2 separate regions of the Homo sapiens genome follow, and region 2 is linked to region 1. Evidence: promoter capture Hi-C in 16 types of primary human blood cells and fetal thymus (Javierre and others, 2016). All regions are on one chromosome and are shown on one strand. The core of a region is centred on a gene start or on the middle of the fragment in contact, and the rest is flanking DNA. Distances in the headings are between cores, read along the strand shown. Region 1 holds the start of ATP11B (ATPase phospholipid transporting 11B (putative)). Region 2 overlaps YEATS2 (YEATS domain containing 2).

The links. Contacts are between HindIII fragments. The CHiCAGO score rates a contact against its expected background, and 5 or more counts as called.
Region 2: a fragment that was not itself captured here is called in contact with the fragment with the promoter of ATP11B in region 1 in 1 of 17 cell types (fetal thymus); the score reaches 5.6 in fetal thymus.

What each region holds. Positions count from the first base shown.
Region 1 is chr3:182,792,154-182,794,853 of GRCh38, forward strand. It overlaps ATP11B (ATPase phospholipid transporting 11B (putative)), which reads left to right and starts at 1,351. Exons shown (of 30, transcript NM_014616.3): 1 at 1,351-1,633. The coding sequence starts at 1,607. It overlaps ATP11B-DT (ATP11B divergent transcript), which reads right to left and starts at 1,211. Exons shown (of 3, transcript NR_187316.1): 1 at 927-1,211. RefSeq lists a silencer at 1,186-1,935. The HindIII fragment of the contact is 13,212 bases long and covers 1-2,700 here.
Region 2 is chr3:183,702,878-183,705,577 of GRCh38, forward strand. All of the region lies in intron 1 of YEATS2 (YEATS domain containing 2), which reads left to right. Among named protein-coding and RNA genes, the nearest start is that of YEATS2, 6.4 kb to the left of the region's middle. The HindIII fragment of the contact is 189 bases long and covers 1,298-1,486 here.

The DNA of each region.
Region 1 (2,700 bases), core at 101-2,600:
ATTGAGGATGCATATTCAACGACCTGCCTAGTCATGCTAATCTCATTTAGATTTGTTCTTGCTTAATTTTTTTTTTTTTTTTTTTTTTTTGAGACGGAGTCTCCTTCTGCCGCCCAGGCTGGAGTGCAGTGGCGCCATCTCGGCTCACTGCAAGCTCTGCCTCCCGGGTTCACGTCATTCTCCTGCCTCAGCCTCCCGAGTAGCTGGGACTACAGGCGACCGCCACCACGCTCGGCTAATGTTTTGTATTTTTTAGTAGAGATGGGGTTTCGCCATGTTAGCCAGGAAGGTCTCGATCTCCTGACCTCGTGATCCACCCGCCTCGGCCTCCCAAAGTGCTGGGATTACATGGGATTACAGGCGTGAGCCACCGCGCCCGGCCGCTTAATTTTTTTTTTTTTAACCACAAACGTCTGTCGGTGAAGTGTGCTTTAATTCAGCAAAAATACAGCATTCAATACATATACATAACACAATATGTATACGGGGCTGCTTTTAAACAACGCCAAACCTTTAAGTCAAAGCCTTGTTCCAGTTGCTTGTATATTCCTTCTGAGCTTGTCATCCACACACTTTTTTAACCTAGGTCAAGTTACTGCTACGGGTGTTTTTGATTGCAGAAGTTTGGCAGTTAGCAGTAAAGAACTACCTTTTTATACAAATTATCTTCCCCTGAACCTGTCCAATTTAGCACACGGCAAGACAGAATATCTCATCCATTCGCCTAGAAACACGGGTCCAGGCTGTACCAGGCTCAGGGGACTTGCAACGCTTTCGAATCACTTAATGGGTGTGATCAAGATTTCCCTAGCCCCGTCTCAGCCATTTGCTAAAGAAGAGGCCTGACTTGTGTTGAGACGAAAGCTCTTACAGCTTGATGGAACCCAAACTGGGACTTCTGGGGGGATTAACTTTCAGTCACATACGTTCAGGACTGTGCGTATGCGTGTCGGGAGACGCGTGAACCAAAGAAGCCACAGAGCCCGAAAAAGACCTGCAACAGGAGGTAGAGACCGAGGAATCGGCCCCAAGCTGCAGACTCCGGAGATGGCCAGACCCACAGACACGACTTAATCCCACTCCCAGAACGGGGAGGAGGGTGGCAGTGGACAGAAACAGCGTTCGAGAACCCGGCACCTTTCCACGCTCGCTTCTTCCCGGACCCACAACACAGAAACCCCCCAACTCGGAACGGCGGCGGGGCGCGCCAGGCCCCCCTCGGTCCGCGCACCCCCTTTCGTCACGTCCGGGGGCGGGCCGGGGCGCCGGGGGCGGTCCCGGGTGGAGCCGGGGGGCCGGGCGGGGCGGGGCGGGGGTGGGGTTGCGGGGGTGCTTTGGGTGACAACGGTCAATAATGAAGGTGGCTGCGGCGCGGCGGCAGGCTCAGCTGCGCCGGGCGGGGGCGGCGCCGGGGCCGCGCCTGTAGGACTCGGGGCCGACGCCGCGGGATGGGGACGCGGCGCGGGGAGTGAGGCAGTGGCGGCGGCGGCGGTAAGCGGAACTTCGGCCCGAGGGGCTCGCCCGCTCCCGCCTCTGTCTTGTCGGCCTCCACCTGCAGCCCCGCGGCCCCCGCGCCCCGCGGGACCCGGACGGCGACGACGGGGGAATGTGGCGCTGGATCCGGCAGCAGCTGGTAGGTGCCCCCGCCCCTCCACCTCCATTCGTCCGCCCCCGCGGGGCCTCTCGGCCCGGGGTGGCGGGGAAAGGCCGGCGGCGCGGAGCCGGGAGGCCAGGGCGTGGGCGCCCGGCTAGGCCGCAGCGGAGACGGGCGCGGGGCCCAGAGCCGGAGAAGCCCCGTGCGGCTCCCGGGCTCGTCTCGCCTCCAAGCCCGGGCCGCCGAGGCTGGCGCCGAGCGGCCGGAGGCGGCCGCTTCTAGCCGGCGCTTCTCCGTTACTTCTTCCCCCTTGCCGCTCCGGGGCTGCTGTGGCCAGAGGCGGGAGTCCCGAGCGGGGTGGCGGTGCCCCCAGAGGAAACAGGGCGAGGGAGCTGAGCGAGAGTAGGTCTTGGGGAGATGAGAGAGGCGTGCTCTTCCTGCCTCGAACAATTTGGGACGTGTTTGGGTGAAGGGGAAGCGAAGAACCTGTCTTCTGCCCCCACTCGTCACGGACTTCTGGAAGCGTGTCACGATCCAGAGCTGTGTTGATTCCCGAGGAGGAGGCTGTCGTAGGTGTCTAGCCCCCTCAGCGAGAGACGTTTCTCCCCAGGACCTGGAAAGGGGAAAGACTGTGCCAGCTGCCGGTCTAGCTTCGGAAACGATACGTATTGTACGATAGTTACGAACGATACGTACTGTCGTTTCCTTCCTACCTCGTCCTCACCCCACCCCGAGTGAAACTTTTCGAGTGTGAACCTTACTTTTTTCCCGTTCTCCTCAAGGCAGTTTGAACGACACAGGTTTGGAAGGAATAGTTAACTCTCCAGTATTATTGGAACATCTGGACACCACCAACAAAAAATCTTAGAAAAGGGTCATTTAAGGCCTATAAAAAGTGCCACCTTTCCCAGAATTAATTCAGAGAGAAAAATCTTATCTGCCTCCTGGCAGCTACAGCGCAGAAAGTACAGCATTAAGGCAGCTGTGACAATTAGGACAGAAATTGCCCCTGGCTGAAGAAGCCTAACCTTATCTGTGTGATGAGGCCGGTTACTATTTAATTTCTAAATCGCATTAACTTAATGCTTCTACAAGTTGGCGTTTTC
Region 2 (2,700 bases), core at 142-2,641, 910 kb after region 1:
CCAGGTGCATTAATGGAGAGAAGCAGTGGCATGGATAATTTAGAGGAGCTGTTTTATCCTACAGTCTTCTGTGTGCTAGTTTGCAAGGTTGTAGACAGCGTACTGGCCAGAATGGATTCTGGGGGCTGACCATATTAGCAAATTGTGTAGTCTTAAAGCCGTTTTATTTATAGGAAAGTTGGTGTTTTTGACCTGGAAATATATAAGACTGAAATAATGAGACAGTGTTTTTGAGCTCAGCTGTCTTTTGCTCAGCTCTTTACATGTTATTAGAAATGTCCCACATCACGTCAGTCCTAATGACCAGATCGCTCAGCTTCTCGCCATTCAGGTCCAGTATAAAATTTTGATTATTTTTACTTAAAAGATCTGTTTTTGTTTTGGATGCCAGATGAGTTAAAGAAAAAGTGATATGTTAGCCAGCAAATGGGAACATATTCAAAAGGTTTTGTGTGTCAGACCTGACTTAGAATAATTAGCATAGCATTTTTTTGTCGGTACTAACTCTGGTGAAAATCATAACAGAATCTTCTGTCTCCTAGAGTTCCCTTGGTCTGAGTCTGTCCTTTAATAGAGGTTGGTGCAAAAGTAGTTGTGGTTTTTACTTTTGCACCAACCTAATAGATAACTTCTCGTTCCTTCTGTTACAAAATGAGCATAACTTTGGAAAGACGATCAGGTGTATTTTGTTTTTTCAGTTCTTTGTATCAAAGGGAGGTGACAGTGTTAAGAGTAATGTTTAAATAGGTGGAGAAATTTTAATTGACATTGAAATATAGATTTTGATTTTTTTGATAGGGCTTCTGCATGCCTAATGATTTTCTCAGTATAATATTAAAATGGATATATATTCTTAGAGTGTACATTGAACAGTCTTTGGGAAGAGTGGATGGTGTTGGGGTGAAGCTGCTGCCGTATTTAGTTTTCAAAATAGAATTCAGGAAATGGATCATATGTATTTGGATTACTGAAAGTCAGTTTCATTAAAATGTTCCTAAAGGGGCCAGGCGTAGTGGCTCACGCTTGTAATCCCAGCACTTTGGGAGGCTGAGGCAGGCGGATCACCTGAGGTCAGGAGTTCAACCCTCCCTCTACTAAAAAAATAAAATAAAATAAAATAAAAAATAGCCAGATGTGGTGGTGGGTGCCTGCAGTCCCAGCTACTTAGGAGGCTGAGGCAGGAGAATCACTCCAACCTGGGAGGCAGAGGTTGCAGTGAGCCGATATTGCGCCACTGCAATCCAGCTTGGGCAACAGAGTGAGACTCCATCTCAAAAAAAAAAAAAAAGCTTCCTAAAGCTTCAACAGTAGACTTGTGTAGTACAAATCCCCTTCGTTCTAGATCTCCCCACTTTGGTTTTAGGATTTAGCCTTTGTTCGTTCTGCTTGTTTCTTTTTCTGTTGCTGGCAATAAAACTTTCCAGTTATGATGCATTATGCTTTTAATACCCTGCTGGATTGGATTTGTATGTGTATTTGCAGTGAAAGCTTGTTTGCCATTTTCCTCTGATGGTGACTTTTGACCACATTTCCATAGGTTTGGAGATACTGTGTTCTCGTTAGTTTTTAAATAGTCTGTTACTTTAGTTTTAATTTCTTCTTTGAGTCATGAGTTATTAGAAGAGTGTCTTATTTTCCATATCATGGTGAGCTAATATTAATTTTTATTAAGATCAGAATGTGGCTGTAATATTTCTACATTTTGCAGTAATTTGAGACTTTCTTCATATCTTACTGTATGATTTACATTTTATGAACTTTTTTTTTTTTGAGACAGAGTCTCACTCTGTTGCCCAGGCTGGAGTGCAGTGGCGTGATTTCGGCTCACTGCAACCTCCACTTCCTGGGTTCAGCAGTTCTCCTGCCTCAGCCTCCCAAGTAGCTGGGATTACAGGTATCCACAACTATGCCCAGCTAATTTTTGTATTTTTAGTAGAGACGGGGTTTTACCACATTGGCCAGGCTAGTTTCAAACTCCTGTCCTCAAGTGATCCACCCACCTTGGACTCCCAAAATGCTGGGATTACAGGCATGAGCCACTGCATCCGACCTTAATGAACTTTTATAGATATTTTTAAAAGATTTTTTTCTGTTGGGTTCAGAGTTGTGTGTATTTGTTAATTCTGGCTTGTTAATTACCAGATATATATCTATATCATCTTTTTTGTTTGTTGTGTTTGTTTTGTTTGAGACGGGGTCTGGCTCTGTCACCCAGGCTGGAGGTGCAACGGCGCGATCTCAGCTTAACTGCAGGCTCCATCTCCTGGGCTCAAGCAATCCTCCTACCTCAGCTGCCCAAGTAGCTGGGAGTACAGGTGCTTGCCACTACTCCTAACTAATTTTTGTATTGTTTGTAGAGACAGGGTTTCACTGTGTTGCCCAGGGTGGTCTTGAACTCCTGAGCTCAAGCGAGTCACCTGCCTCAACTTCCCAAACTGCTGGGATTACAAGCGTGAGCCACCACGCCCGGCCTATCATCTGTATTTTTATAAATTGTCTTAATCTTTTAAATTTTATATAGAGATGTGTGATTTCTTAAACTTTCCTTTTTCTGTTTGTTGTATGTATTTTGATACTATATTGTTGGATGTATAGTTTAAGATGTATTTTTGTGATTGTGCCTTTAATAACATCATCTTTATCATGTTATTTTTTTTGCCTTGAATTCTATTATTAATATTGCCTTGCTTACTGTCTTTT